4 separate regions of the Homo sapiens genome follow, and regions 1, 3 and 4 are each linked to region 2. The links are contacts of gene promoters, found by promoter capture Hi-C in blood cells and fetal thymus (Javierre and others, 2016). All regions are on one chromosome and are shown on one strand. Each heading gives the region's core, a stretch centred on a gene start or on the middle of the fragment in contact. The rest is flanking DNA. Distances are from core to core; before and after follow the strand shown.

Region 1 (2,700 bases), core at 187-2,686, 2.6 Mb after region 2:
CACTCCCTCTGGCGTTGAAAGATCCACAGTCAAATCCGAAATGCGCCCGAATCTAGGTAACAAGAGCAGACTCTCCATCAGCGGGGTCGCCCTCGGCCTCCCTGCACAGCCCCGGGGCTCCCCCGGAGACGCCCCTTCCCACGCCTGCAGCCTGGCCCAGCCCGGCCGAGTCCGAACTGGCGGCAAGCGCTGGCTGAGCCACTTCTCCCGACTCTGATTCCCACGCGCGGCCCCTCCCAGGACGCCCCCTGCCCTGGCTCCGCGCCTACCTGTAGCACCAGCGGCTCGGGGTTGAAGGCCAGGGTCAGCAGCAGCTGCATGCGCTCCGAGTCCTTGAGGTTGCGAAGCAGGAAGCTGCCCGAGTCCTTGGTCTCCGCGTAGCGGCGCACCAGGCGGTCGAGAAGGCGCTGCGAGGGGCAGTGCACCAGGTCCGACCAGCCCTCCACCGCCTCGGGCGTGAGCAGACGCACGTCGCCGTTGAGGCGCGCGAACTCGGTCCGGGGCATGGCCTGCAGCAGGTCGCAGCGGGGCCGGCCGGTGGCCCGCTTGCAGATGCTCTGGTCGAGCTGCGCCAGCTCGCGCTGCGAGCCGAGGCGCTTGAGCACCACTCGGCGGCGGCCGCCCTCGCGGGGCTCGCCGTACTGCGCGAAGTACACGTTCTTCACGTTGAGGAAGTCCAGCAGGCGCAAGCGGCCCCACGCCTCGAATACCACCTGCCCGTTGAGGAAGCGGCGGCACCAGCTCGTGCCGAAGCACGCCGGGCACTTATTGAGCTGCAGGAAGCGCCGGTCGGTCAGTTCGTTGCGCTGCCAAGAGGCGAGCAGCGACGGCGAGTGCAGCACCATCAGCACCAACAGGCTGCCCAGCGCCGCCAGCTTCAGCGAGCGGGACAGGCGGCCCAGCTTCGGGGGCACCAGGCGCCACATACCGCCCGCCCGCCCGCAACGGGAGGGCGAGGGCACCCCCGGGGCGCCCCCGCCGCGCCAAGACCCGGAGAGCTACCGGCAGGAACCCCGGGCGAGAGAAGGAGCTAGCGCGCGGGCTGGGGCGGAGGGCGGAGTAGGTGTGTGAGAGAGGAAGACGGGGAGCGGGAAGGCGCGGGCCTGAGCGGGCTGCGACTTCTCCCAGTCACTAGTCTCCACAACTCTCGAGCTCCCTCCTCCTAGCTCCCCGCCCTCCGACTCCGGCGGCGCCTCCTCCACGCCAGCCAAGTTATAGAGGAGCGGGAGGGGGAGGGAGCGCGGGGACCCGACGGTCGCGCGCCCGTGCCCGCGCGCACGCGCACTGCTGGCTTCGCACAAGAGCTGCGGCGGCAGCCAGCCACGACAAGTGGGGTCTGCGAGGAAAGGAGGGACTCACGGAAGGGGAAGAGGAGCTAGGATGTCTCACACCCACAAGCAGCAACGCACGTCTCAGAGCCGCACACCCTTGCTTGTGCGCGCTGGCTCTCCTGAGACCAAGAAGGGGAGCCGGGGGCGGGGCCAGAGGGGCGGAGCGAGCGCGTCGCGCGCCGCCCGGAAAGCGTAAGCGGGAGCTCGCGGGAGCGGGTGTGGGGGCGGTTCAGAGAGGGGGAAGCTCGGGCTCTTGAGGTGGGGGCATGAACTCGCGGTTTCTGGTTTCAGAAAGAGTCTTAATTACAGTCATCTTTTATGATTATTGTGGTTTACTGGTGCGTTCCTTTCACTATTGTGGAAACGGCCCTTTAAGGGAGGAGGGAATAAGAAGAAATGAACTGAGGAAGTCTATTGCAAATCCTTCCCTCTGGACGGCGCGCGAGGCGGAGGCAGAGCTGGCGCGATTGCCTCCCCTCGCCTTATATGGGTTGGGTGCGCGCCTGGGGGGTGGGGCGAGGCCGGGGAGTGCCCGACGGGGGCTTGTGTTCCCCTCAGCTCGTGCTCCTCGCGGTAGGGGGTGGGGCCTGTGAGGAAGACGGTGAGAAAGGCTCGAGTAGTGGCGGGTTTGTTGGAGCTTCATCTTTGGGGTTGTATCTGTAAAATCATTTAAAATTTTCTTGAGTGAGCACAAAATAAAGTTCTCAAGCCACCGTGTTAAAGGGAAAATAGGATGAAGGGGAACCGACGCGGCCTGGTGTCGCCAGGACGTCTGCCCCAAGCGCCGCGAAGAAGCCGGGAAGAGTTTGCCAGGCTTGCCTCTGCTGCCCGCCGGCTGCCCTAGCCCGTCCCCGGAGCCCTGCGGTTCCTCTCCGCAAAGCTGATTTCCCGGTGCCGCCCCTGAGGGTCCCTGAGGAGCGGGCCGCGAAGCGTTGCCCTGGCGGTAGCCATGGGGACCCGGGGCTGCTTGGTGCTCCGCACGGTCACGTTGACTCAGTCACCCCAGACTGCAAAAGTAAGGCGCAGATGCCGCACGAAAGCACTGTGTTTAGGGATAAGTTTCAGGGGACCCGGACTGTTTAGCAGTAGCGCTAGTAGATACATTATTATGCTATTCACTTTTAGTGCTAGAGTAGTTAAAATGAGAAGTGATTTTTAGTCTGAGGGACAGGTGGTTCCTGATACGTTATTAAACAACTGAGTCTTAACTGAGTTAATTTTAGGGCTTGAACAGTGCTTTTAGAAGACCATGGTAACTGGCATGTGTAGATCAACTCTACAGCGGGTTAATAAGAAACATCTATACCAGGTTATCAAAAGTAACAATACTTTCAGTATTGTTTAATTGTAACAGGTATTTGTTACAAAT
Region 2 (2,700 bases), core at 17-2,516:
AATCCCATGTTCTGGATTAAACTCAAGGTGGGATATCCTGAGATTGCCACAAAAGCACTGAAGAGTCTGCTTCCATTTCCAACATGCTATCTTTGTGAAGCAGGATTTTCTGCAGTGACAGCAACCAAAACAAGATTACGGAGTAGACTGGACATAAGCAACACACTTCTGGTGTCACTGTCTCCCACCGTTCCCAGATGGGACCTTCTAATTGCAGGAAAACAAGGTCAGGGCTCCCACTGATTCCACATTATGGTGAGTTGTATAATTATTTTATTATATATTACAATGTAATAATAATAGAAGTAAAGTGCGCAATACACGTAATGTGCTTGAATCATCCTGAAACCGTCTGCCACCCGGCCCTGGTCCATGGAAAAATCCTCTTCCGTGAAACTGGTCCCTGGTGCCAAAAAGGTTGGGGACCACTGGTTTATCCAGGGTCATCCAGGTTGGAGTGGGGTCAGGAGAAATGGGGAAATTTAGGTAAAAGTATACAAAGTTACAAACACGTAGGATGAACAAATGGGAAGACCTAATGTACAACATGAGGGCTATAGTTAATGATAGTGGTATTCAGGATTTATGCTAAATAAGTAGATTATAGCTGCTCTTGCCCCAAGGGGGGAAATGTGTAATTATAGGAGTTGATGGATATGTCATACAAATAACTTAAATACACAGAATAAAAACTATTTTAGTTTAAAAAGGAACAATATTTATAAAAAAATAAAGTGAGCTCGAAAACATTCAAATAACTGCTTAAAAATTAAAAAGTAATATCACATAATTTAATAGAAGGAAAGAAAGAGCAAGACAGCAAGAAAGAAAAGGCACCATAAAGAAAAACAATTTTGGCCCCTCCTCATTTGTAGTCTTAAGCTGCCTCTACTCCCTCGCCTTGAAAAGCCACGGGCTTCCGAGGGATGGAGGTCAAAGCCAGAGTAAAGAAAGTTCCCGGGGGAGGCCACTCCCCAGCTGATGACTTTCCAGTTCCAGTTAGTGTCGGAGTCCCAGTTCCTCTCCTTAACCACCGGACAAACGTCTCTGGAGTCTCTCCAATGAGCAAGAAAGCAAGTCGGGGGTAGGGGAGGGGCCTCACACCAGGGGGTGGGCGCAGTCCCTCCTCCAGCTCCTTCACCCTCCAGTAGTCTCGTGGGTCCCCGAGCGCCAGCGCGGGAACCGGGAAAAGGAAACCGTGTTGTGTACGTAAGATTCAGGAAACGAAACCAGGAGCCGCGGGTGTTGGCGCAAAGGTTACTCCCAGACCCTTTTCCGGCTGACTTCTGAGAAGGTTGCGCAGCAGCTGTGCCCGGCAGTCTAGAGGCGCAGAAGAGGAAGCCATCGCCTGGCCCCGGCTCTCTGGACCTTGTCTCGCTCGGGAGCGGAAACAGCGGCAGCCAGAGGTGCGCGGGCGGCTTTCTCTGCCGCCTCCTGGGGACTTGGGCGCGGGAACTGCGCGGAGCCTGCGCTGGGGCCAGGGCCGGGGTCAGGTGTGGAGGGCAACTTGTGGGGAACCGGCGCGAGGGCCCGCAGGTTGTGTTTGCTGCTCTGGGGGTGGAGGATGTGGGGTGAAGGTTGGGGCCAGAAATGCAAGAGGCCTCTGAAAGGGACCCTGGAAGTGGAGCAGGTACACGGCAAGGGGCCCCAGGCGGCCCAGCGGCACCCGGGCTCACCCCAGAACCATTCGAATGACAAGGGGTGCCCTGCCTGAAAACGCCTTGCGGGGCTCAGCTTCCCCTTAGCTACACTGCTTTACAGGTAGAGAGCGGCCCTGAATCCTGGGTAGAGTCTGGGCTCAGGAGCATGTGCCAGCGTAGTGGGGCTATTAGAAGGAATGGTTAATACAGCCTGCAAGCTGTCATTTATCAGTAAGTATTCAATGAAGTCCGCCGGAGCCCACATCTATGCTAGGCCCTCTACAATACCAGCTTAGGAAAGATAGTGGCGGTATCTAGCACGGTTCCTAAGACCATTAGCTCCAGTCAGGCTCCCCGACTTTAAATTCGGCCTCTACTGCTTCACGTCTGTGGACTGTCAGCCACTTTCTTCTTATATATGTTCTTTCCATTGCCTCATCTCTGAAATTGTGTAACTATTAAATGAGCTACAGAGTATTAATGTAAAATTCTTAGAGCAGTGCCTGGCGCTACAGAAAGTACTCAGTGAAAGTTAGCTCTTATTATTTTAAATATTTGACAAAGTTCCTGCTTCTCCAAGCTGATTCTCTGGTTCCCAGGTGGTTTCATTCATGCACTGTTATTCCTGGAAGTCTTGGCATGGCCACTTCCCAGTTCCAGGAACAGGCAGTCGTTGTTTTTTCTGGCTTATCACATTGAGATACATGGTTACTACAAGTGACACTTAAACGTGTCAGACAGTTTGGGGGCTCCCTTCTTGAACTTTTTCTAAGAGCAAACCTTTGTCTTAATGCCACCCTGTTTACAACAATAGTAGGGCTTTGAACAATGAGAAAATGCGGGGAAATGAAAAAGACATATAAAGGGAAAGAGTGGATTTATGCAATTGGATAGAAAAGTGGCATGTAAAATAGCTGGTTTATAGATCAAACTGCCTTTAGATCTGTAAAGGAGCTTAGAGTACATACAGGTGGAGAGACATCAGATGTGTGTGAGCAGACCCTTATGTACTTCTCCATCTTCATCTCTAAGAATGTCTCCCTCTTTTGCTCTGTAACCT
Region 3 (2,700 bases), core at 156-2,655, 2.4 Mb before region 2:
TAGTGGAGAATGTGACTGTATTTGGAGATAGGACTTCTAAAGAGGAAATTGAGGTAAAATGAAGTCCAATGGGTGGGTCCTAATTCAGTATGACAGGTAACCTTATAAGAAGAGGCAATTAGGACATAGACATACGCAGAAGAAAGACCATGTGAAGACACTGGAGGAAGAAAGCCATCTACAAGTCAAGGAGAGAGGCCTCAGAATGAAATCAATCCTGCTGACATTTTGATTTGGGACTTCTGGCCTCTAGAATTGTGAGAAAAGAAATTTCTCTTATTTAAGCCATGCAGTCTGTGGTATTTTGTTACAGCAGCCTTAGCAAACTAATACACACACACACACACACACACACGCACACATACACACACAAAGGAAAACATGTTAAATGTTGAGCAATGGGGGATTAATGAAACACGTTTTGGCTCATCTGCATGATGGAGCTCCATTCCTACATTTAAAGTGATGCTGATGAACACTGTCATGGAAAGCTACTGATGCTATGTCATTATATAAAGCATATTATCCAATAGTATGTATAGCATAATATTTTATTTGTATGTGTGTGTATATATATAAAGTAAATATTAGTTTGGTCTGAGTGGTGATACATTCCTTTATTTGTTTAGGAAAGTAAAAATTTGTGCTGCTGGCTGCTGGATCATGACGTTCCCAAGTGAACACTAACAATGCTTACAGAATATAAACAATGTTCAGACAAGGCCACTCTGTGACTATGTTTGGAACAAGATAAAGATGAGGCCACTCTATAACCATAAAAATGACTAGATACATTCTTCTTTTAACAGAAGTGACTGCTATTTTCTTTCTTTTTAAATGAATGACAACTCTTACCCACTTTAGATTTTTTCCTTGCTAAGATAAAAATTTTTTCCTTGCTAAGATAAAAATTGTACCTTCATTTTGACAGAATCTCATCCAGATTTGATCCCTACTTTCCTAATTTCTCCTTAAATTTATCCATTAAATTCCCAGATCTTATAAGAAGCCCTCTCAACTCCCTCTTATCAAGAGGCTCCAGAAATCTGGTGGTTTAGGTCAATGGGCCTTAACAATTCCAAATTAGATCAATTTGTCCCCTCCCACCGACCACAACTAGCAGGACATTCCATCTCAGTTGAGTTTTAGGAGGCTCTTCTTGATTTATAAAGCTGTTGAGGATTTTAGGATGTTCATTGCCCTTTTTAAGAGGGCAGCTTCCTTTCCTCTACCAAGCTGGGCACGGGAATTTTTTGTTGTGTGCCAAGGCCAAAAACCTGGGGTTCAGTCCAGGTCACTGCTTGAGGACTGTTTGGGAGTGGGGCATAGATCTTCACCATTTCTTGAACCCAATGCCACTGGTCTCCTCCTTGGCAAAACTTCTGTCCTCCTGGCTTAGGCCTCCACTCTCAGGACTAGTCTCTTTCTGGGTGGATAGAGTGTTAGCTTTCTAGCACCTCCTGGCTTCTGGTTTGTAGCTCTGCAACTATACTTATTAACAAGTGGCTGAGGCTAGGAAGCTCAGACTTAGAACACGAAATTTGCTTGGGAGTGAGGGAGGAAAAAGCATCTCTCCTTCTTTTACAGTGGTGCATTCAGCACATACCATTTTCTAAATAACACTCTGACTCATATTCTAGAAAGGGTTTTGATATATGTCCTGCAGTGTTAAAAGTGGTATTATGGGCCTTTAAAGTGTTTACTTTTGTTACTTATTTTTACTTTCTAAATTTTCTTTCGTTGAACATTTGCTTCCAAAATCAGAAAAGTCATTTATTTTAGCTAATAAAATAACGAAACAGAATAAGAAGAAAGGAAGAATGAAATAAGTAAAACAAGCCTGTCAGTAGTGGATGTATAGACATATTGATGTAGTATGAATTTAGGACAGCCTGAAAATTGGCTTTCTCTCAGTGCATAAAGGCTGGCCCTATGGAAGTGGTAGGAGGAATGAGGTTCATTGTTGAGGAGAAATGTCTTTTGAAAGGGAAATGACATAATGGCTTTTACCCCTAGCTCATATTAGAATTACTCGATACCCAGGCCCCACCCCCAGTGATTTATGTGATTACTGTTTAAAGGAAGGAGAACATGGATGAGGAATGAGGCCCTCAATACAAAACTTCCCTATTTACATTTTTCCTTAGAGCCATCTTTGGAGGAAAGGTGGGATCAGATTATTCCCTTTTATTAGTGTTTTCTCAGATATTGTAAGGCTACCCCATTGATGTAAAAACTATGTTTACTGTTACAGGGAAGAACATTTGAAAGCAATTTTTACTTGTACATTTTATTGTATTGTATGTTAGAAAAATATGGCCGGGCAAGGTGGCTCAAGCCTGTAATCCCAACACTTTGGGAGGCCGAGGCGGGCGGATCACGAGGTCAGGAAATTGAGACCATCCTGGCTAACATGGTGAAACCCCATCTGTACTAAAAATACAAAAAAATTAGTTGTGTGTGGTGGCGGGCACCTGTAGTCCCAGCTACTTGGGAGGCTGAGGCAGGAAAATGGCGTGAACCCAGGAGGCGGAGCTTGCAGTGAGCCGAGATCGCACCACTGCACCACTGCACTCCAGCCTGGGCAACAGAGTGGGACTCCGTCTCAAAATAAATAAATAAATAAATAAAAAATATATATATACACCAAAGTCGTGATTTCATGGCAATGATATAGTTTTTAAACAACTAAGTTCATTT
Region 4 (2,700 bases), core at 103-2,602, 2.7 Mb after region 2:
AATAACATCCAGTACGCATTGGGTGGGCCAAGGCCAGCCAAATAGCCTCTAGTGCAGGTGGAAGAAGATTCCCCTTTTCTCTGGTCGTCACTGAGTGATGGACTTCTGAGCATCAAGAATCAACACAGAGATAACAGTTCACAGAGGGAAACAGTGAGGTCTGCACCCATTTTTCCCTCCTCAGAGAATGGCTGGAATGCACTTGTTGGGTAGAAGAAGGAAAGGATCCCCTATCCATGCCACACACATTTCTACACTTGCATTGTTAATAAAATGATTCAAATTCTCTAATTTAACTCGTTTTCAGTGATTTTTAATCTCACCTTCCCACTATAATGAAGAGCAGTGGAAAGAACATGGAGTTGGGGTCACATCCTGGGTTCATGGCCCTGGATCCCACAGACCAGACTTTGTAAAGGCTGAAGGAAAGAAACCAAGCATTGAACAGTGAATTTGGGGTGGGCTTAATATTGTCCAAGTGTTTACTATGGGATTTAATTACCCGTGAAATTTTTGAACTTTCATTTCTCTATGGAAATATACTAATGGGAGGGGTCCATATTATTCAAATTTAGGGGCAACTTATGCTAACATGTGACTTTTTTCAGGTGGGGACAGCTAAGATAGGTCTATGGTGAGCTTGAAAATAGGATAGGGGATGAATTTTGGGATGAGGACATCGTGTGGCTTTCAAGCAAACTTAATTACAGTCCTGTCCTGGCCCATTTCAGAAGCTTGGAGTAGGGTGGGGCAAAATATGAAACTTCCATTTCACTGGTCTCAGAGAGGGATAAATAGCAAGGGAAAGGCCACATGAATGAGACGGTGGAATTTTCCTATAACCCAGGGCCTGTGTTGTCTGAAGTATTCTCTGTTAACACTAGGGGCTGAGAGAGAACTAAGACTGGGCATTGTGGAGCTCCAGGGAGATGGAGAGGGGACTTCTCAGTATGTCTCCCTACCCAAAGCAAACTTAGCTTCTCGACACCCTGACCCCACAATCTTCAATGACCTCTTACAAGAATGAGGAGCTCTCAAGTGATTGGTTAGATTCTGTAAAGCTGATTGGATCCCATTCACTAATGGGTGAGATTACCGCACCATGCAAAGTTACACTGGCCTGGGAGGTTCCACTCTTCAGTTCTTTCTTTCATTGTGGCTGGATGGGCAAGCTGAGACAGGGCACACTGACTGCAACAGGCTGGGCCATCCTGTTCTTTCTCTTTGCTGCTTCTCACTTGCGTGTCGCATCTTGCAGTAGCCAGCAGGTATTAATATTGAGATTTAGGGACAGTCAAGAATTCCTCTTTGGTCCTTGTGCCTAAGTTTTGAGTCCATCCCAATTTTATCTGAGAACCTGGAACTAATGATCCTGGTTACCAGGTCACAAAACAGCATGTAATTTTTAACTGATATTGTTTCTTGTGTGAATATCTCCTTCAGGAATCTCATGAAAAATAGTGATTACTGACAGTACAGGATTTGAGAATTTGAGGAACTTTGGCTGTTAGAGTGACCAAGTTTGCTTGTTTGTCTGTGAGTGAGGGGGTTTCCTGGGACACACAACTTTCAGTAGTAAACCAGGAAAGTCCCTGATAAGCTAGGATGAGTTGATCACCCTGGCTGAAAAGCCATCTAAAGGCCAATACACCCCACATGCAATTTAACTCCTACTGGCTGTGTGACCTTGGCTATGTTGCCAAATCTCCCTGAGCCTTAAATTACTCACCAGGAGAAGGGTGAGTATTTTCTGCACATTAAATTAGACTAAGTTAAATTCCTTGGCATATTTTCTGGTCCATAGTAGACTCTCTATTGTTACATGTTTCCATTTTATTTTCTCACTTACGTTGGTACAGCAAAATAAAAAATGATATTCTAAAAAGAAAACACAAAATAGGAAGAATTGAATTCCTTTTCTGGATGGAGGAATTGGAGATGTTTCCTGAGCCCCTTTTCTTCAAGCTTTTCCCCCCAATGTGAAGCAGCATCAGGAATGAACAATGGAATAGTGAATGTACTCCATTCCTGGAATAAAGCAGGGGTCATACATTCAAACATCTGCAGGGGCCACACGGGGACCATGAATGAAAGAAGAGGGATGAATGGACTTGTGGCAAGCTGGTTGCAAATGCAGCAGGCAACCACTCAGCCCCAACAGATTGTGGCCATGTAAGAAGGGCCCAGTGTGCCAGATCTTACAAGTTTTTCTTGCAAAAAGCCATATGATTTTTTAAATGTTAAATATACTGATTTGAATGTGTTGACATCAAACCTAAAACTTTTTAAAAAGACGTGTAAGCCAATCAAAACATTCTATGGGCCATTAATCTTTTGTCAAGTTGCTTCATTGGTTAAAAGAGTGAAACTGGATGTCACGGATCAACCAGAGAATGTTTATTCTACTCAGATGGAATAATTGTGATAAAAGAAAACCAAAGTAATTCAATAATGACAAAAAACAAAAGGACAGGAAGTTTCTGAATTTGTGTTATCTTGTATATCTGACAACTCGACTGAACCTGTGGAGTTGCAAAATCATAAAGGTAGAACCTGCTAGCAAAGCTCCATGAAATGCTTGCAAGCATTAGCTGATAGGTTTCAAAACAGTATGAATATTAGTCATCACAGATATTCCTGCCAAAAAGGGTAGCGTGTCAGAAGAACATCTGCAGCACACATAAATACCCTCTGCTAAGT

Evidence for each region. Contacts are between HindIII fragments. The CHiCAGO score rates a contact against its expected background, and 5 or more counts as called.
Region 1: a contact is called between the fragment with the promoter of DIPK2A here and the fragment with the promoter of PLSCR1 in region 2, in 2 of 17 cell types (monocytes and M0 macrophages). The highest score is 8.6, in monocytes.
Region 3: a contact is called between a fragment that was not itself captured here and the fragment with the promoter of PLSCR1 in region 2, in 1 of 17 cell types (M0 macrophages). The highest score is 6.5, in M0 macrophages.
Region 4: a contact is called between a fragment that was not itself captured here and the fragment with the promoter of PLSCR1 in region 2, in 2 of 17 cell types (M0 macrophages and M1 macrophages). The highest score is 6.7, in M0 macrophages.

The regions. Positions count from the first base shown.
Region 1 is chr3:143,970,559-143,973,258 of GRCh38, reverse strand. DIPK2A (divergent protein kinase domain 2A) reads right to left here and starts at 1,436. Exons shown (of 3, transcript NM_173552.5): 1 at 270-1,436. The coding sequence starts at 926. RefSeq lists silencers at 111-350, 841-1,490, 1,821-1,870 and enhancers at 969-1,549, 1,601-1,690, 1,961-2,070, 1,550-2,130. The HindIII fragment of the contact is 6,379 bases long and covers 1-2,700 here.
Region 2 is chr3:146,543,173-146,545,872 of GRCh38, reverse strand. It overlaps PLSCR1 (phospholipid scramblase 1), which reads left to right and starts at 1,266. Exons shown (of 9, transcript NM_021105.3): 1 at 1,266-1,406. RefSeq lists an enhancer at 937-1,416. The HindIII fragment of the contact is 8,607 bases long and covers 1-2,700 here.
Region 3 is chr3:148,949,779-148,952,478 of GRCh38, reverse strand. The region is part of intron 2 of LOC107986045 (a long non-coding RNA gene); the gene reads right to left. Among named protein-coding and RNA genes, the nearest start is that of GYG1, 40 kb to the left of the region's middle. The HindIII fragment of the contact is 6,256 bases long and covers 1-2,700 here.
Region 4 is chr3:143,850,004-143,852,703 of GRCh38, reverse strand. No RefSeq gene overlaps it. Among named protein-coding and RNA genes, the nearest start is that of SLC9A9, 2.9 kb to the right of the region's middle. The HindIII fragment of the contact is 1,231 bases long and covers 737-1,967 here.